Linked DNA regions of Homo sapiens: regions 1, 3, 4, 5, 6 and 7 are each linked to region 2. The links are contacts of gene promoters, found by promoter capture Hi-C in human tissues and cell types (Jung and others, 2019). All regions are on one chromosome and are shown on one strand. Each heading gives the region's core, a stretch centred on a gene start or on the middle of the fragment in contact. The rest is flanking DNA. Distances are from core to core; before and after follow the strand shown. Region 1 overlaps PTPN9 (protein tyrosine phosphatase non-receptor type 9). Region 2 holds the start of CSPG4 (chondroitin sulfate proteoglycan 4). Region 3 overlaps FBXO22 (F-box protein 22). Region 4 overlaps PTPN9 (protein tyrosine phosphatase non-receptor type 9). Region 5 holds the start of PTPN9 (protein tyrosine phosphatase non-receptor type 9). Region 6 overlaps FBXO22 (F-box protein 22). Region 7 overlaps UBE2Q2 (ubiquitin conjugating enzyme E2 Q2).

Region 1 (2,700 bases), core at 112-2,611, 180 kb after region 2:
TTTCTCTCCCCAGAGGTGACCATTATTACCAGTTTTTTGTGTATCCTACAAATATTTATGTGCATATCTAAATTCCTATAATACTTTTTGCTTACTAATAGTCATATTACTTGTTTCATATACTGTATACTTAGATATACACTGTGTGGTTTCTGAATTTTATTCTCTTCTTTAACATTCCTTTTTTTTTTTGAGACAGGGTCTGGCTGTGTCACCCAGGCTGGGGGGCCATGCAGTGGTACAGTTTCAGCTCACTGCAGCCTCTGCCTCCCGGGCTTAAGTGATCCTCCCACTTGTGGGACTGTAGGCGTGTGCCATCATGCTGGGCGAATTTTTGTATTTTTTGTAGAGACGGGGTTTTGTCATGTTCCTCAGGCTGGTCACGAACTCCTGAGATCAAGCAGTCTGCCCACTTCGGCCTCCCAGAGTGCTGGGATTATAGATTGGAGCCACCACACCTGGCCTAAAATTCCTGTCTTTTTGCATCAGGTTGTTACGCATCTTTTGGCTTCTGTTAGGTATGACCTTCAGTGCAATGTTACATAGTGGTGGTAATAGCAGGTACCTGCTGGCCTTCTCATCTTTAATAGAAAAAAATTACGGGGCCTATGTGTGATGGATTTTACGCAGTGCATTTTCAGCATCTGTTGAGAAGGTTATATACTTTTTTTTCCTTTCCTGTTAACATAAAAATTGCTTTGATAGATCTCCTGATGTTAAACCAAGTCTTTACATTCCTCGGAGAAGCCTGTAATGTGAGAGCTATCTTTACTGTGAAGCTTTGTGTGTGTGTGTGTTTTGTTTTGTTTTGTTTTGTTTCGAGACAAAGTCTTGCTCTCTCTCCCAGGCTGGAGTACAGTGGCACAATCTTGGCTCACTGCAACCTCTGCCTCCTGGGTTCAAGTGATTCTCCTGCCTCAGCCTCCTGAGTAGCTGGGATTACAGGCAGGCACCACCACACACAGCTAATTTTTGTATTTTTAGAAGAGACAGGGTTTCACTATGTTGGCCAGGCTGGTCTTGAACGCCTGACCTCAGGTGATCCGCCTGCCTTGGCCTCCCAAAGTGCTGGGATTACAGGTGTGAGCCACCACGCCTGGCCTTTTTTTTTTTTTTTTTTTTTTTGAGATGGAGTCTCCCTCTGTTGCCCTGCTGGAGTGCAGTGGCACCATCTCGGCTCACTGCAACCTCCGCCTCCTGAGTTCAAGTGATTCTCCTGCCTCAGCCTCCCGAGTAGCTGGGACTACAGGTGCGCACCACCACGCCCAGCTAAGTTTTTTGCATTTTTAATAGAGGTGGGGGTTTCACCGTGTTGGCCAGGATGGTCTTGATCTCTTAACCTCATGGTCCACCCACCTAAGCCTCCCAAAGTGCTGGGATTACAGGCGTGAGCCACCGAGCCTGGCCTTTTTTTTTTTTTTTTTTTTTTTTTTTTAGGGAAGATATTTGACGATTCCTCTTGTTTTTGTTTAGATCACCATTTATTTGATTTTCAGCAATCACTAGTTTTTTTTTTTTTTTTTTTTTGAGACGGAGTCTCACTGTGTCACCCAGGCTGGAGTGCAATGGCATGATCTCGGCTCACTGCAACCTCAGCCTCCTGGATTCAAGCAATTCTCTTGCCTCAGCCTCCTGAGTAGTTGGGATTACAGGCGCCCACCACCATGCCCAGCTAAGTTTTGTATTTTTAGTAGAGACGGAGTTTTGCCATATTGGTCAGGCTGGTCTCGAATTCCTGACCTCAGGTGATCCGCCTGCCTTGGCCTCCCAAAGTGCTGGGATTACAGGTGTGAGCCACCATGCCTGGCCTGCAATCACTAGTATTTCTAAAAGAAAATTGTAAAAGTTCCTTTGTTCTTCATCTTCTGTCTGCCCTCTAAATGTTAATAATATTGAGACTTCAATAATTAATTCATTCATTCATCATAGATATTTATTAAGTAAGTGCTTTGTGCCAGGCACAGTGCTAGGAACTAGGTGAATAAAATAGATATGATCCCTGTCTTCAGGGAACTTACCTCCCTGTTGCTAGATTTTTTTTCCTTTCAGTCTGACTTCCCCACTGCTTATAGTTATTTTTTTGAGGTGGGAGAGGGGAACCAAACTCATCATCTCATCCCTTTGCTTAAAGATCTCTATTGAATCTTTTATGTTTATAGGATCATGTCTGGAATTTGAAGTACAGCATACAAGGGCCTTCCCAGTCTGGTTCAGCCCCCCTGTTCACACATCTCCCACCATTCTCCCTCATACACATTGGACACACTAGCTATATGATATCCCCAATAAGCCCTGTTCTTTCATGACCCTGATTTGAAACATTTTGTTCTCTGACTAGAATACTTTTCTCTGCCTGACAGATTCCTACTCATCCTTCAAGGCACTCCTAAAAAAATTTTTTTTATATCCATAGAGAGAGTTTGAATCCCATAGCATTCTGTTCATAGAACCTTCCTAGAATTTATTACATTATGTGGTAAAGATGTATTTATACATCTGTCTCCATAGTTAAATGATTGTAAACTGCTTGGAATAGGGTCTTTATGTCTCTATGTTGTGTCTTCTCACTTGATCTTAGCGAAAGGCCAAGAAGCGATCTATGTTGTGTCTTCTCAACAACTACTGTACTGATTAGCACAGAATGGGCCCTCAGCAAATATTTGTTGTGAATGTTTGACTAATCCTTTCTTTTCCCCTTCC
Region 2 (2,700 bases), core at 29-2,528:
ATACTCATAACCCCCACATGGACCAGGCACCATCACACCTGAGCACTGCACTTAGGGTCAAAGACCTGGCCCCACATCTCAGCAGCTATGTAGACTAGCTCCAGTCCCTTAATCTCTCTCAGCCTCAGTTTCTTCATCTGCAAAACAGGTCTCAGTTTCGTTGCAAAGTATGAAGTGCTGGGCTGTTACTGGTCAAAGGGAAGAGCTGGGAAGAGGGTGCAAGGTGGGGTTGGGCTGGAGATGGGCTGGAGCAGATAGATGGAGGGACCTGAATGGAGGAAGTAAACCAAGGCCCGGTAACATTGGGACTGGACAGAGAACACGCAGATCCTCTAGGCACCGGAAGCTAAGTAACATTGCCCTTTCTCCTCCTGTTTGGGACTAGGCTGATGTTGCTGCCTGGAAGGGAGCCAGCAGAAGGGCCCCAGCCTGAAGCTGTTAGGTAGAAGCCAAATCCAGGGCCAGATTTCCAGGAGGCAGCCTCGGGAAGTTGAAACACCCGGATTCAGGGGTCAGGAGGCCTGGGCTTCTGGCACCAAACGGCCAGGGACCTACTTTCCACCTGGAGTCTTGTAAGAGCCACTTTCAGCTTGAGCTGCACTTTCGTCCTCCATGAAATGGGGGAGGGGATGCTCCTCACCCACCTTGCAAGGTTATTTTGAGGCAAATGTCATGGCGGGACTGAGAATTCTTCTGCCCTGCGAGGAAATCCAGACATCTCTCCCTTACAGACAGGGAGACTGAGGTGAGGCCCTTCCAGGCAGAGAAGGTCACTGTTGCAGCCATGGGCAGTGCCCCACAGGACCTCGGGTGGTGCCTCTGGAGTCTGGAGAAGTTCCTAGGGGACCTCCGAGGCAAAGCAGCCCAAAAGCCGCCTGTGAGGGTGGCTGGTGTCTGTCCTTCCTCCTAAGGCTGGAGTGTGCCTGTGGAGGGGTCTCCTGAACTCCCGCAAAGGCAGAAAGGAGGGAAGTAGGGGCTGGGACAGTTCATGCCTCCTCCCTGAGGGGGTCTCCCGGGCTCGGCTCTTGGGGCCAGAGTTCAGGGTGTCTGGGCCTCTCTATGACTTTGTTCTAAGTCTTTAGGGTGGGGCTGGGGTCTGGCCCAGCTGCAAGGGCCCCCTCACCCCTGCCCCAGAGAGGAACAGCCCCGCACGGGCCCTTTAAGAAGGTTGAGGGTGGGGGCAGGTGGGGGAGTCCAAGCCTGAAACCCGAGCGGGCGCGCGGGTCTGCGCCTGCCCCGCCCCCGGAGTTAAGTGCGCGGACACCCGGAGCCGGCCCGCGCCCAGGAGCAGAGCCGCGCTCGCTCCACTCAGCTCCCAGCTCCCAGGACTCCGCTGGCTCCTCGCAAGTCCTGCCGCCCAGCCCGCCGGGATGCAGTCCGGGCCGCGGCCCCCACTTCCAGCCCCCGGCCTGGCCTTGGCTTTGACCCTGACTATGTTGGCCAGACTTGCATCCGCGGGTGAGTGAGGGGCCTGAGACCCCGACCCAGCCTGGCGGAACTAGAGGGGTTCCTCCGGGAGGGAAAAGGGACAGGAGGAGCCAGAAGTGGCCCCCAGATCGGGAGTCAAGCAGGCTGCGCTTCTCCCACCACTAGCTGGGGTCGCCAGGGGTTCAATCCTGGGGCGGACACGGGACCCCGCTATCTCAGGTTATGGGGTTTCTAGCTAGCCAAGGCTGTCCAGTTAGGGGCGGGAGCAGGCGCCCCAGGCATGGATTGCCTAGGGCGTGGCTTTGCCCGTTTGGATTGTCTGAGACACCAGTGGGGCCACCCCAATGCTGGCCGAGCTTTGTTTGCCAGGCAAGTTTGGGGTGAGTATGTTGGGGTCCAAAGGGACCCGGCGACAGTGAGAAGTGGGTCCTCCAGCTTCAGATGCCCTGGGCCAGGAATGGGGAGTGCTACAAGGTGGGAAACGAGGAATGAGCCACCCTGCCCTCCCCTGTGAGGAGCACCCCCACACCCCTCCAGCTGCCCCCCAGCTCTGCCCCTTCTTTCCTCCCCTTGCTTCCTTGCAGATCCGTCTATCTGCCACCTCCCCTCTTCATTCTCTCCTCTCCCTCCTCCTGTTGGTGACAGGCAGGACCCCCCACCCACTACCCACTCTCAGCCTCCTAGAGGGAGAGCTGGTGCCCCTCAGCGGGGCTTGTCCTACAGATAGCTCTGGACCACCCCCTGCCACACCTCCTCATCCCAGCACTGATGCCTGACCCAGCAGAGGCTGAATGGAAGTTCGCTTTCCGAGAAGTGCTGGGATATATCCCCTCTCTGTCCCGATGCCAGAAACCCCAACATGACAGCATTCTTCCTTCAGCGAAGGCAGCTCTAGTTATGCCATAAGAACTGTGGCCTTAGGGCCCATCCATCATCACTACCCACGTGTGATTCAGTGCTTCAGCTACACCTTCGAGATCATTCCCAAGAGCAACATGGAGCAAAGGCAGGGCCTGAGCCTCCTTCACAAGGGCCCAGGCCACACCCTTCTCTCCTTCAGATGGAGAAGCCAGCTCTAAAAGAGGGCATCACATGGTTCCCAGAAGGGAAGTGAGTCAAGGGAGGACCCCCGCGGGGTGAATCAGGGCTGGATCTCCAGGCTCCCTGTTCCTGCAGGGACCAGATCCCCTAAGATCTCAGGGCCTGAGGGATGGGCTGGGCCGCCAGGGAGATGGGAAGGGAGCATCCAAGGTGACCAGGGTGGTCAGCTCA
Region 3 (2,700 bases), core at 85-2,584, 200 kb before region 2:
AGGATGGAGTGCAATGGCGTGATCTCGGCTCACTGCAACCTCTGCCTCCCGGGCTCAAGCAATTCTCCTGCCTTAGCCTCCTGAGCAGCTGGGATTACAGGTGCCCGCCATCATGCCTGGCTAATTTTTGTATTTTTAGTAGAGATGGGGTTTCACCACGTCGGCCAGGCTGCTCTTGAACTCCTGACCTCATGATCCACCCACCTCGGCCTCCCAAAGTGCTGGGACCACAGACGTGAGCCACTGCGCCTGGCCAATTTTTACATTTTTTAGTAGAGATGGGGTTTTGCCATGTTGGCCAGGCTGGTCTCCAACTCCTGACTTCAAGTGATCCGCCTGCCTCGGCCTCCTAAAGTGCTGGGATTACAGGTGTCAGCCACCACGCCAGGCCAAAAAGAAATAAACTCTTTTTTTTAAAAAAATGTTAAGCCCTTTAGAAACCACAGCTAGAGCAACTGAACAAATAATATTCATTTGTAAACATGTAAAATTCTTTTTACCTCACTGTATAAGACTCAAATTCAGATCAAAAATCTTTCAGTGAAGATTAAAAATGACAATTCTCAGTAGAGTACTACTGAGTTGGAACAAAAAAACATAACAGCAGCCAGGTGCAGTGGCTCATGCCTGTAATCCCAGCACTTTGGGAGGCTGAGGCGGTGGATCACCTGAGGTCAGGAATTTGAGACCAGCCTGGCCAACATGGTGAAACCCGGTTTCTACTAAAAATACAAAAATTAGCCAGGTGTGGTGGTGGCGGGCGCCTGTGATCCCAGCTACTTGGGAGGCTGAGGCAGGAGAATTGCTTGAATCCAGGAGGCAGAAGTCGCAGTGAGTAGAGATCACGCCATTGCACTCCAACCTTGGTGACAAGAGTGAAACTCCATCTCAAAAACAATACATAAATGACAGCTAACATTTACTTACTGCTTTGTGTATCTCTATTGTAAATGCTTTACAAGTGTTAACTCATTTAATTCTCACAACCCTCCAAGGAAGGTACTACTGTCATCATCCCCACTTCCTTGATGAGGACAGTGAAGCCCCATGAAGTTAGGTAACTTGCTCAAAGTCATACAGATACTAAGCGGTACAGCCGGCATTCGAATCCAGGTATCTAACCATTGCACCATTACTGCCTCAACAGAATCTCTCCTCCCCCAGTTAACTACAGAAAAGAATCAAAAATAATAAAAACCAGCAAAAATTCACCAGCAGCAATCAAGCATGGAAAGGGGCACAACCTCATGCTGTAAACATTGAAGAGTGGTACCAAAGCAGAGAAACAGAAGTCTCCTAGTAAGGCCCAGCTTTGCTCCTAATCCCAGCCCCATCTCACCCCTACCCACCAAACACAATACTGCTTGAACTGACAAAACTCTGAAAATGCCCACAAATACTTCCTAATTTGGAGGAAGGCAGAATGAGATCATTCCCCTCTTATGAATGACTACTGGATATTTATACAGGTAACCTTGAGATGAGAAGTACAATAACTTAATAAACATTAATATAAGGCAAATATAATGCCATGGTAAATATGACTGACTTTATTGTATTTTAGATGGACAGAAATAGAAATGTGGTTCTAAGCTAAAAATAACTCACCAATCCAAAGGACCCCACATTAATGCAAGGAAGAAATCATCAAGTTGCTAATTTATCTCACCTACAATTCCTGGGGTCACAATCCCAAGGACTTGGCATTGTTTGGGGAATAGCTTCTCAAGGGCAAGTGCTGTTTCCATACTAGTTCTTTTCCTTGCTGTAAAAATACAGTAGCAAAATGATAAATATCATCCATTTAAAGTCAAATCTGAGAATGAAAAAGTAAAAAAGCAAATACTGGAAATATTTAAGTCATTTAACACGAGAATGCTCTAAATAAAGGTCTAAAAGCATTGATTAAAACAAACACTTTACCTGTTTTGGTCCTGGCTTTTAAATTATAAATCTGATCTTTTGCACCACTAGTCTGCCTTTCCCCTCTGTTCATATATTGCTTTTGCCCCAGTGATGTCAAATTTAGCAGTAACAGCTGAATTTTAGACTTGCTATTGTACCTTTCTGTTCAGCTGATATTGCAGTATAACTACTATTTGCATCAACAGTCACCTGGATCAAATTAGACAATGAGAATCCATTATCTAAGTCTAACTTGGGACCTGAGTGTGCGCATCTTGGATACCCATTCTGCCTTTTCCCTCAGCAAGCCAAAAATGCACCATTTCTCTACATAACTTTAGTAAATGGGACCTCATGTTCCAATACAGTAAAAGGCCTGAATAGCCAAGTCATACAACCTGTTTTAATAATAAAAAGTGCCTGGAGAATTAAAGCATCTCAAATTGAGAACAACACCTTTCTAACGAATTTGTTTCAATTGCACTACAAGGTTTAGAAATCAATCTGAAGCAGAAAGGGTTCCTCAAGGTTCAAAGATAGATATATTGATGCATACTACAGGTGGCAGTCCCAGAGCCTCAGAAAGTCAGTTAACTCTCAGGACAAGTATAATATTGAACTCCGAACGGAAGGCACATGATAAAAAAACAGAAGCAAAAGCTTTTCTTTTGATATTTACCTCTCTTATGGCCACGACACTCTTCCAGACTAATGAAAGTTTCTGAATCAGCCATGTAAAGAACTGTATGTGGTAAGATGCGAACATTCTGCAAAGAAAAAAAAAAAATTGGAATT
Region 4 (2,700 bases), core at 99-2,598, 250 kb after region 2:
TTGACAGAAGAAAAAAATTGAGAGACAGGAATGTTAATTTGCTACAGCCAGGATCCCAGACCATCTGACTCCAAAGTATCTTCTTTCACCTCTTACACTAGACTTCCTCTAAGGATCCATCTTCTGATCTGCCAATAAATTTTTATCGAGTTTCTTACCATAATCAGGAGCTCAAGTGTAGAGCAGAAGATTAATCTAGTTCCTTCTCCAGATGAGCCTCCATTCTCTTGGGAGTGCACAAACATAAGAAGTGAACAGAGATTCTTGGAAATCTGAGAAACCAGAGAGGTCAGGGGTTTGGTGGAACATGTAAGAAATGGGATTAATGATAAACGGCCTGGAGGAGGTAACTTTAAATTGTCATTTATTTGAAGAGGCTGTAACCCGACTGCCCTGTGAATTTAAGGTTATGCATGAGTTCCTCATTGCATATCTGAAGACTGGTGAGGTTATCTATCACTTCAGCTCCATAAAATGCTGATTTCTGGGCCCATCCAGTAGGTTGTTAGTGAGTGACAGGATTATCCAGGTTTGGGAACCATAGATTTAGTTCATGTTTCTGACCCTATAGAGAGTTAACAAATTGATGTCTCCTAAATTTTCAGTAAAACTCAGAGGAACTCCTCCCACTGCCATTGTTTGTAGCTTTTACCAGCGTGAACCTACCTGTGTTAGGTGTTAAAGGAGGAGGTAAAGGAAAGGGAAGGCAGAGACGCAACCCAGAATCTGTTTGGCAAGTCAGGGTTCTCATACAGGAGACTTAGTGAACAAAGCAAGAGAAAATGCTCAGGGTCCAAGTGCAGTGGCTTTATGCCTGTAATCCCAGTACTTTGGAAGGCCGAGGTGGGCAGATCACCTGAGGTCAGGAGTTTGAGACCAGCCTGACCAATATGATGAAACCCCATCTCTACTAAAAATATAAAAATTACCCGGGTGTGGTGGTATGTGCTTGTAATCCCAGCTACTCGGGAGGCTGAAATGGGAGAATCACTTGAATCTGGGAGGCAGAGGTTGCAATGAGCCGAGATCGCGCCATTGCACTCTAGCCTGGGCAACAAGAGTAAAACTCCATCTCAAAAAAAATAAATAAATAAAAAAGAAAGACAGTGTTCAGGAAAGAAGAAAACACTGAGCTAAAGCAGGCTTCTGCTTCTGATTTGATGGCTGTTTGTTTCACCTTTCTCTAACATTCCCATGCTATATAATTTTTCAAACATGAGATAATCCCTGTGTCCTTTTTCCCATTGCTCCCTTCATCTTGCCCATCCTCATTGGCTAGGATGGGACTCCTGAGACGAAGGGTGCCCCAGCATCCTCAGCCTCGGAGGCCCACCCTTATCAGTCTTCATGTGACAGTATGCAGGTAAATGACAGAGTAGGACTTGTTCTTGGGAGAATGGACTATTTAGCATCATAGCCCTAGGGAAATTTGGTTCCTTCCCTGAAAGGAATGCTTCCTGTCTCTTGGGACAGACAGACACACATACAAAAACTTTTATAAATCAGAGACCTAGAGGGAATTGGGCCAAGAGGCATTGGCCAAGTAGAAAAGCTTCTCTAGAGTGACCCAGCTCTTTTGTGGTTTTGAGGTCTTACCACTGAACCAAACCCAAGTCCTAGGTTCCCTCTGTAAAAGAAGGGGCTACACTAGATGATCCTACCATGGGTCCTCTGACTGTCAGGGTCCAGTTCTTTGTTAGACAGTGCAAACACCCATAGAGGAGCTATTAGGCCTTTACTTGGGTTGAGTTGGCTCCCACTAGCACTCCCCACTTTTCATTTTTTTTACTTTCAGAGACAGAGTCTCACTCTGTTGCCTAGGTTAGAGGGGAGTGGCATGATCATGGCTCACTGCAGTCTCAACAACTGGGCTCAAGCAGGAACCCAGCTTTTTTTTTTTTTCTCTCTCTCTCTCTAGAGACAGGATCTCACTATGTTGCCCAGGCTGGTCTCGAACTCCAGCCTCAAGCAATCCTCCTGCCTCGGCCTCCCAAAGTGAGAGGATTACAGGCATGGGCCACCACACCCAGCCTCTCCAGTTTTAGTGTGTTTTCAGAGTCTCTTCTTTCAAGCTGCTGCTACTTCCCTAGCTTCCCTCAGTTCTCTTCCCCCTTGGCCTTCCAATTGGAGGAAAAGCAGGTCAGGTCTCTGTCATCTCCAAGACCAGCCTATAGGCCTTTAAAGTTTCCCTGTTTCTTAATGTGGGGTCTACAGGGTTTCTCAGAGGCAAAGCATGAACAGACCAAGGGTCCTATAGCTCCCAACCTAGTCCTTAGATTTCTCTCTGGCCTTGGTTACTCCCACAAACCACTGTGAGCCTACCAAGGGCAGGAATGGAAATGCCCATCAGCCTGGGAACCATCTTTTTCTCTTAGGAGGTATCCGCCCTATAGTTACCTTTACACAACACTTGTGAATATCAAGTGTTCTAGACTGCACTGTTCATAATTGACTACAGAGAAGACTAGGATCTTCTCCACAAATAGAAATATATCACTTTTACTTGGAGATGTTTTCTTGGGGGAAAAAAAATCTAGCACCTTGAAACCTGTTACAATGTTTAAATCTCCCTTCTTTACCTTGGCTGTCATAAAATCCTCCTGTTTGAGCTAAATGTGGCCTGCTGAAGTCTTAAATGCCCATATTTTTCAGGCTAAGGCCATGGTGGACATAGCTAACTCCACTAGAATCCTAGCTGGG
Region 5 (2,700 bases), core at 19-2,518, 130 kb after region 2:
CGCGCCACTGCACTCCAGCCTGGGTGACAGAGTGAGACTCCGTCTCAAAAAAAGAAAAACAAAAAAGCCAGGCGCGCGGTGGCTCACGCCTGCCTGTAATCCCAGCACTTTGGAAGACCGAGGCGGGCGGATCACAAGGTCAGGAGTTCGAGACCAGCCTGACCAACATGGTGAAACCCCGTCTCTACTAAAAATACAAAAATTAGCCGGGCGTGGTGGCTCGCACCTGTAATCCCAGCTACCCAGGAGGCTGAGGCAGGAGAATCGCTTGACCCCGGGAGGTGGAGGTTGCAGTGAGCCGAGATCGCGCCACTGCACTCCAGCCTGGGCGACACAGAGACTCCGTCTCAAAAAAAAAAATAAAAAAAAAATCATAGGAGCATCACAACTCACAGCACCTTCCTGTTGTCTGAAGGCCCCTCCTTTGGGTCCCTCAGGACTGGCTCCAGGGCTTCAGCCTTGGAACTAGTTGTGGACTTTGGGTCCCTTTGGAATATTTATCTTTGGCTTGGAATAATGCAACAACGTACCAGACCCAGCCTTGCCTTCTCTATGCCCCATTCCTCCCCAAATGACTCCAAGACTGTACCCCTAATCCTGAACCCTTTGCTGCACTTGCCCTAGTGAAAATCAAAGGTCTGCAAAGGCCGCGTCATTCCTGAATGATGTTCGGAGTCTGATGTCGTTTCTATGGGGGATTAAAATTAGCGACACTGGAGATGAATTACAGGGTGCAGCCAGTAAGGAGGGAGAGAGAGGGAGGCAGGTGCGATTCCTTCCACCTAAGCATCCTGGCCTGGCAGGCAACCTTTCCAGGGTCTTTCAGGCTGCAAGCGACAAATAGTTGAGGATTGTGGGTTTCTCACGCGTAGGTGGCAGCGGCAAGTTAACCCCAGGAGAGGTGCCAGTCAGCAGATAATTTGCAAACGAACGTATTCTCCTCCTCCTCCGAGGATCTGAGCCTCACGAAATACTCTTTTCTTCCTTTTTCTCCCTCCCGCAGTCGAGTTGCCTTCCGTCCAGCTAGGGTCCCCTCCCCGCCCGGGTCCCCTCCCCCTCCCGGTCCCCTCCCCCGCCCGGGCTCCTCTCTGTCTCCCCCTCCCGGACTGCGTCCTCGCTCCGCCGGGCCCTCCTCGCCGCCAGCTTGTGAATGAGACGCTCAGTTTCTCAATGGAGCCGCGGGGGGCTCGGGCGGCCGCGGGGCGGCCGCAGCGTTGGCCGTGAGTCAGGAGGGGGGCGCGTTTCCCTCGCTCCCTCTCCACTCCCTCCCTTTCGCTGCGGCCGCCCGCGAGGAGCCTGGCTGAGGCAGCCGCGCAGGTCGCAGGGCCAGCGTCCGCGAGGACGGCCCGGCTGGGCGGCCCCGAGCTCTGTGGCGCTGTGGAGGAGCGGGAGCGCGGCCGAGGAAGCGGGGCGCCGAGGGGGTCGGCGGCCTTCGGGAAATTTCCGCCGACCCTTCGCTCCCGGCTCTAAAAGTTCCTGATTTCCTATTTCCTTTTAAATCCCGAGTGGCTGTTAGCTCTTCGCCTGCACTTTTTCTTCCCCAGGAGATAAGGGGGAGTGTGAGGAACGGAGCGAATAATATAAAAAAGGATTTCCTCCCGGAAGAGAGCGGCAGTTCGGAGAGATTTTTCTTAAGGAAGCAGAAGCGGCGTTTGCGGCCGCTGCAGGCGCCGGGCCCTGCCGGCCACACTATGCGCGAGCCGGCCCCGGGCTGCTGAGGCGCGGGGACGCGGAAGCGGAGGCCGAGCGCGCCGGGCTCCCGCGCTCGCGAGCGAGTTTTGTCCGCCCGGCGGCGGTGGCGGGGGGATGGAGCCCGCGACCGCGCCCCGGCCCGACATGGCGCCGGAGCTGACCCCGGAGGAGGAGCAGGTAAGCGGGCCCGAGGCCGCCGCGTTGGGTGTGTCCGGGCCCCCGAGGCCTACGCCGGCCTCTGCCTCCCGAGTGCCGGCTCTTTGCAGCCACGGGGCCGCAGCCCCCCGCTCCCGTGCCCGGCTCGCGGGCCTCCCTCACCGGCGACCGCGCCCCAGGCCGCCACCCCCTCGTCGGGGGACCCACGGGACCCTACTCCCGTTCCCGCCGCTTCTTTCGCCGAGGCTTACCAGCCTCAGACGGTGCCCTCCGCACCCCACCCCCTATTCCAGGGGCAAAGTTCCTTGGATCCAGGGGCCTTCTTCCCGAGATTTGCAGAACCGCTGCTTGCCCCCGGCCCTTCCACTCCCTTGTAAATGTTTTCCGTGAGGGTTTGTGGCTTTTGAAGGGCAGGAAAAGCCCCAGTTTGGGGGGTGCTTCCTGTGGGGATTATCTCCCTTCCCGAGGAGAGGGCTGAGAGTATTGGATGCATAGATGCCCTAGATTTTCAGAGGAGCCTCTTAGGTTTCTCAGGCCCACTTGGGCAGGTTATGGAAGATCCAGCCCTTCTCGTGTTCCTAAAGTCCCTGGCCTTGACCCCCCTATTCAGCTATCCCAGACGGGGCGCATCTCCTCACCCGCGCTTCCCTACCCTCGTCTCATCTGACTGTCTCCATCTTTCTGAAGCTTACATTGAGCTCTATTGTTCCTTAAAAGCCTATGACCTTTAGTTTTCAGAAGGAAGTGGTTTGCTGTCTCATTTTGGGGGCCCTTGTAACTTTCCCTCCCGCACATTCCAGCTGCGGAGACAGGGACCACTCCTGAGGAAGATGGGAAGGTCTGCTAGCTTAG
Region 6 (2,700 bases), core at 201-2,700, 220 kb before region 2:
CAAATACAAAGGGGCAATGCACATCCATAACGATTTCTGAAACCCATATCCGGTTATTAGAAAGTACAGTTTCCTTACCTTTCTGACTTCCTTAAAAGGAATGTTATAATTTTATTAATATACACAAAGATATCCACTAAACGAAGCCTTCTGCTATTGTTTACATTAACATCTCTTCCCCCCGACTTCAGCTGTCAAATTCTGAAAGATGTATATTAAAAATATAATAATGGAGGGTGATTTTATTTTTTTAGAGATAGGGTTCTCTGTTAGCTAGGCTGAAGTGCAGTGGCACAATCATAGCTCACTGCAGCCTCAAACTCGTGGGATAAAGCAATCCTCCTGCCTGAGTCTCTCAAGGAGCTGGGGCTACAGATACATGCCACCACACCTGGCTAATCTGTAAACATTTTGTAGAGATAGGGTCTCACTATGTTGCTCAGACTGGTCTCAAACTCCTGGGCTCAAGCAATCCTCCTGCCTCAGCCTCCCAAAGTTCTGGGATTACAGGCATGAGCCACTGCACTCAGAGGATAATTTTAAAAACCTATTAACTCTAGAAGTTTTAGCTTTATGTCTAGTCCACTAGAAAATATGATTATGTTATTTTTTTGTCTTGTTTATTGCTTTGAGTCTAGAGTTCAGCTTAATTTGATGGTAAAAACTCATGCTTTGTTTTTGTTTATATTTGCCTGGTTTTTTTAAAAAATGAAATATCCTTACAAAAGAAAATACAACATTGATAAAAGTAATAAAGCATAATATAGTGAACATCCACTAGGGGATAAACAAGTATTGTATCATGCTTCCAACATCTGAATCTATAAAATGGGCAAGAGTCACTGGATTAGTGAGAAACTAAGACGCAAAAAGGTTAAGTGACTAAAGTAATAAGGCTAGCTAGTAGTAAAACAAGTTTGTGAGGGGCAAAATCCGTCTTCTGAAGTCCTCTGCTGCTCTTAAAACTTTATCACATTTCCTCTTTGGTACAGAATTGTTAATATACATTGTCAATCTTGCCTCAAAGAATTATACATCTTCCTTTTGGGGCACTGGGTCAGTTGGGTTATCTGGACTTTATTAAAATGGAGCCCTCATTTACTCAATGGTTTCTCTTAACCACTGACAGAGTATGAAGACCACATTAAAATTAATGGGTCATGTGAAGAGTAATGATTGGGGTGGGGGGTGTTTCTCTTATTAGGTATAAAAAGTAGATGATATACAAATAGCTACACTTACAAGCTAGCACCTCAGATGTTATAAGTCTGAGTGAGGTATCTGCATTTCAAAGGTAAACTGTATGTTGAATCACCATTGCCCTATCCGTACACAATTTAAGTTAATAGCAAAGACACAGGAAAAATTAGGCAAGAGGGGAAATAACTTAGATAGCCACCAAGAATTCAGTGTATGTATGCACAAAATCCAGTGTTTGATATCCTGCCTGGGATTCAACGTACTTGGCCTTCCTCTCTTCCTCCTCCCTGGCAGTCCAGGGACCTCAACTTTAGCTATTTTCCCAGATCTAGCTCATAGAGATAACCAGAAGAGAGACTATAACTAGGATGACTTACATTATTCTTATAGATACTGATCTGCAACAGTCTGTCCCCATGTCACCACTCTAGGATGCAAATATTAAACAGAGTGGGAAACAAATAGTAGTGTTTACAAGCATTGAGGGTGGGGTAGGGTCTGATTTTCCTGCTGGAAACAAATGATATTTATGTCCACCTAATTGTTTCAAACTCAAAATGATATGTATTTTCATTCAAGATGGAAAGGAAGTAATGGCTCCCAAGACAGAAGAGCAAATATTTTTATCTTTGAAAGCAAAAGCCTTAGTAACAAAAAAGATCCACAATTTTTAAGCTTGAAAAAGCCTTTCAAAAGATCTAATACAGAATTTCCAAAAACCAGTACGACTTGCAAGACATTCTGTGGAAAAAAGTTTTGTGACCAAACACATTTGGGAACTGTCACAGGTAATGCTATTCTCCTTCCAGATTTCCACAGCACTGGGCATATTAGAAGCTCTGAGAAGTTTTGCCATAAAGATACACTCTAACCATGTGTTTCCTTTAAAGGAGGAAACTAGAAAGGAGGTGACACATTGAGGTCACACAGAGTACCACATCTGTCAAAGGAAAGATCAACAGGCAATGTCAAATTTTAAGGAGAATGTGACTCAAGGAAGTTCTTGAAGGACAATATATATAAAAATGTAATTATTCAACCGTAAGCAGAATTATGTTCAGTAAGCCCCTTAGCCAATGTCTACTACAAAATGGAATGAACTATTATCTTAATAATTCTTTAAACACGTTTTTTAAATTGTTAACCCCAAAGTGACAAAACCTGAGACCATTTCCCTTCATTCACAGACGAAATCAGAAGCACACAAGACATACTTTTCAGAAGTCAGTGATGACAGGTTGTCCACCTGGCCTCCAGCCAAGATGATATTCATATCACTGAAAGTGCTGACTACTTGCTGCAGATAATTACTGGCTCCCACCTTACAGCAATTATAACCAAAGACAAGGACCACACGAAGTTCAGGGTTATCTAAAAGACCTGCAGAGAAATGAAGAGCAACAGTTAAAGACAGCCTTAAAACAGAAATTATTTTATACATGCTGCAAAATGAAATGTTACTGACTTGCACTCCACCTTAAGGGCAATTTAGTGGCTTAA
Region 7 (2,700 bases), core at 158-2,657, 180 kb before region 2:
TTTTGTTTTGAATACTATTTCCATAAGTAAGCAATCACTGAAAGAGTGACAAGTTTGCTTTGTCATTAAAATAAATGAGCACAAAACACAAATCTTAAGTCACAAACTGACACATTTCTAGCAAAGTAAAGAATACTTTACAGGCATGGTGGCTTGTGCCTACAGTCCAAGCTACTGAGGAGACTGAGGCAGGAGGATCACATCAGCCCAGGAACTTGAGGCTGCAGTCCACTATGATCACGCCTGTAAACAACCACTGCACTCCAGTTATAACAACAAGAACTCCATCTGTAAGGAGTTGCCTTTAACTCAGTTCCTAATATTTCAAGTAAGTAAAGTGAGTCATTCATTAATCTACTAAAAAAAAAAAAAAAGAAATCTTGATTCTGACTCTGAGATACCTAGGCCAAGTGTATAGGATACAAAAATTTTGACTGAAGTACAATGTTAAGGTTTTGTGGTGCAGTGGCTTACACCTGTAATCCCAGTACTTTGGGAGGCCGAGGCGGGCGGATCACAAAGTCAGGAGATCGAGACCATCCTGGCTAACACAGGGAAACCCGGTCTCTACTAAAAATACAAAAAAGGCACCTGTAGTCCCAGCTACTCGGGAGGCTGAGGCAGGAGAATGGCATGAACCTGGGAGGCGGAGCTGGCAGTGAGCTGAGATAGTGCCACTGCACTCCAGCTGGGGTGACAGAGCGAGACTCCGTCTCAAAAAACAAATAAAATAAAATAAAATAAAATAAATAAATAAATAAATAAAGATTTTGTATGCAGCACAAGTTTCTTTCACCATGGTAACAGCATTTTAAGAAACTAAAGCAAAAACAGAAAAATAAAATGGTAAGTATTAATACATTATCTAAAACTTCTTAAATGGCAATAAACACTTATTGAATTAAACATACCATTTTTCTCATGTATCTGTACAATGGAATTATAGGATTGTTGGGCTCTTGCTAGATTATATTGATTCTGAAAGAGAATTACACATTTTAAATCAAAAGTGTAATTAGGTGAAAATTATTACAATAAATTTATGAATGCATCACACTGTGCTTAAAAGAACATGGGAAACTGACTATCTCCATTTCAAAAACAATTTTAACTTAATAGCCTCATTTCTCAGTTTCATTATTCTCTACAATTTTATAAAAATAACAAAACCAAAATTGTACCCCAATAAAACTCAACAAGCCTCACAGTTCATTTTTATAAGTCTTCCTACCATTGGACAAGTACAAAGCTTTCTGGTTCTAGAGTCCGTCTCCATATTGCTGAATCAAGTTAAAGGATTATATCTGGATGTTAATAAAACTCAAACTGTCTTCACACAATTTCTATTTTTAAAAAAACTACAAAATATTACTTTCAGATAAGAAAATATTAAGCTTCCACAACTATACATATGAATGACATTTTAAGTTAGAAATCTAAAGAATGCCCATAATTGTCACCATGCTTACTAAAGGAGCCCTCTTTTGATAAAAATATACAATCTTTTTAAGGAGCCAAATCTAGGATTAATTTTGTCACCATAAGTACAACCAACCTATATCTTCGCTTCGAATTAATATACCAGGAGCACTCTCCATAGTGGTACCCATCTATCCACTATATTATGTGGCAGAAATTTTTGCATAATAAATTCACACAGCACAAGACTCAAAAATGTCTACATCCTAAGTGAAAACTCTCCCTCCTACTTGGTGCCCTGAACACCCAGTTTCCTCCCGTTCATCCCCCTTCCTCCACACAAGTTAACCACTATTACTAATTTCTTGTATGTCCCTCTTTAAGATTATTCATGTACAGCCCACTGTTATTAGCCACTGTCCCTGGCTTTCCTTCACTAACAGTTGCATGCTACAGACACTGGTCTGCCCCTTTTCTTGTCTAGCATATCTTGGAGAATGTTCCTTATCAGTATAGAACATACCTGTTTTAAACACTGAAATATTTCTATTATATGGATATTCAAATATTTAATCAGTCCCCTATTGGTGGACATCAGGGTTTCTCAATATTTTGCTGTTATAATGTTGCCAAGAGCAACCTTGTACGTATATCTGCTGAGTACTGGTAAAAATGTCCTAGAGTAGAGCTGCTGTGTCAAAAGATATATATGTGTAATTCTGAGATATTGCTAAATTGCCCTCTACATAACTGCACAAATGTGTCTGCCCACCAGCCATCTGTAAGAGTGCCTCGATGCAGCCTCACCAATGCAGTACTTCAAACATTTGTAGATTTCTGACAATATACTAGATGGACTCCCAGTATAGTTTTGATTTGTATTTCTATTGAGTGAGACTGAGCATGTCTCCATTATGTTCATGAGCCATTTATTTCTATTTCTGTAAACAGACTTTTTATACCCCCTTTTCCTATTTTTTTTTAACATGTTAAATTTATGTAAGGACTTTTCCTATTTTTCTACAGGGTAGTCTTTTTCAACATCTAAGAGCTCTTTAAAATAGTAAAGCCGGCCAGGCACGGTGGCTCACACCTGTAATCCCAGTACTTTTAGAGGCTGAGGCAGGTAGATCACCTGAGGCTGGGAGTTCAAGACCAGCCTGACCAACACGGAGAAACCCCGTCTCTACAAAAATACCAAATTAGCCAGGCGTGGTGGAGCACACCTGTAATCTCAGCTACTTGGGAGGCTGAGGCAGGAGAATCGCTTGAACCCAGGAG

What was found. Contacts are between HindIII fragments. The study calls those that stand out against the background at their distance.
Region 1: a contact is called between a fragment that was not itself captured here and the fragment with the promoter of CSPG4 in region 2, in 1 of the 25 tissues and cell types used here (stomach).
Region 3: a contact is called between a fragment that was not itself captured here and the fragment with the promoter of CSPG4 in region 2, in 1 of the 25 tissues and cell types used here (mesenchymal stem cells).
Region 4: a fragment that was not itself captured here is called in contact with the fragment with the promoter of CSPG4 in region 2 in 2 of the 25 tissues and cell types used here (dorsolateral prefrontal cortex and mesendoderm cells).
Region 5: the fragment with the promoter of PTPN9 here is called in contact with the fragment with the promoter of CSPG4 in region 2 in 2 of the 25 tissues and cell types used here (adrenal gland and pancreas).
Region 6: a fragment that was not itself captured here is called in contact with the fragment with the promoter of CSPG4 in region 2 in 2 of the 25 tissues and cell types used here (heart left ventricle and mesendoderm cells).
Region 7: a fragment that was not itself captured here is called in contact with the fragment with the promoter of CSPG4 in region 2 in 1 of the 25 tissues and cell types used here (liver).

The regions. Positions count from the first base shown.
Region 1 is chr15:75,536,179-75,538,878 of GRCh38, reverse strand. All of the region lies in intron 1 of PTPN9 (protein tyrosine phosphatase non-receptor type 9), which reads left to right. Among named protein-coding and RNA genes, the nearest start is that of PTPN9, 42 kb to the left of the region's middle. The HindIII fragment of the contact is 5,613 bases long and covers 1-2,700 here.
Region 2 is chr15:75,711,426-75,714,125 of GRCh38, reverse strand. CSPG4 (chondroitin sulfate proteoglycan 4) reads left to right here and starts at 1,278. Exons shown (of 10, transcript NM_001897.5): 1 at 1,278-1,458. The coding sequence starts at 1,371. The HindIII fragment of the contact is 20,321 bases long and covers 1-2,700 here.
Region 3 is chr15:75,913,175-75,915,874 of GRCh38, reverse strand. It overlaps FBXO22 (F-box protein 22), which reads right to left. Exons shown (of 7, transcript NM_147188.3): 3 at 2,585-2,672; 4 at 1,670-1,765. Among named protein-coding and RNA genes, the nearest start is that of FBXO22, 11 kb to the right of the region's middle. The HindIII fragment of the contact is 3,628 bases long and covers 1-2,700 here.
Region 4 is chr15:75,463,496-75,466,195 of GRCh38, reverse strand. PTPN9 (protein tyrosine phosphatase non-receptor type 9) reads left to right here. Exons shown (of 13, transcript NM_002833.4): 13 at 1-2,700. Among named protein-coding and RNA genes, the nearest start is that of SIN3A, 13 kb to the right of the region's middle. The HindIII fragment of the contact is 4,221 bases long and covers 1-2,700 here.
Region 5 is chr15:75,577,883-75,580,582 of GRCh38, reverse strand. PTPN9 (protein tyrosine phosphatase non-receptor type 9) reads left to right here and starts at 1,268. Exons shown (of 13, transcript NM_002833.4): 1 at 1,268-1,869. The coding sequence starts at 1,807. RefSeq lists silencers at 911-1,400, 1,661-2,060 and an enhancer at 1,103-1,701. The HindIII fragment of the contact is 16,601 bases long and covers 1-2,700 here.
Region 6 is chr15:75,929,764-75,932,463 of GRCh38, reverse strand. It overlaps FBXO22 (F-box protein 22), which reads right to left. Exons shown (of 7, transcript NM_147188.3): 6 at 2,415-2,580. Among named protein-coding and RNA genes, the nearest start is that of FBXO22, 27 kb to the right of the region's middle. The HindIII fragment of the contact is 5,750 bases long and covers 1-2,700 here.
Region 7 is chr15:75,895,273-75,897,972 of GRCh38, reverse strand. It overlaps UBE2Q2 (ubiquitin conjugating enzyme E2 Q2), which reads right to left. Exons shown (of 13, transcript NM_173469.4): 12 at 912-978. It also overlaps the pseudogene RN7SL510P. Among named protein-coding and RNA genes, the nearest start is that of FBXO22, 7.3 kb to the left of the region's middle. The HindIII fragment of the contact is 4,691 bases long and covers 1-2,700 here.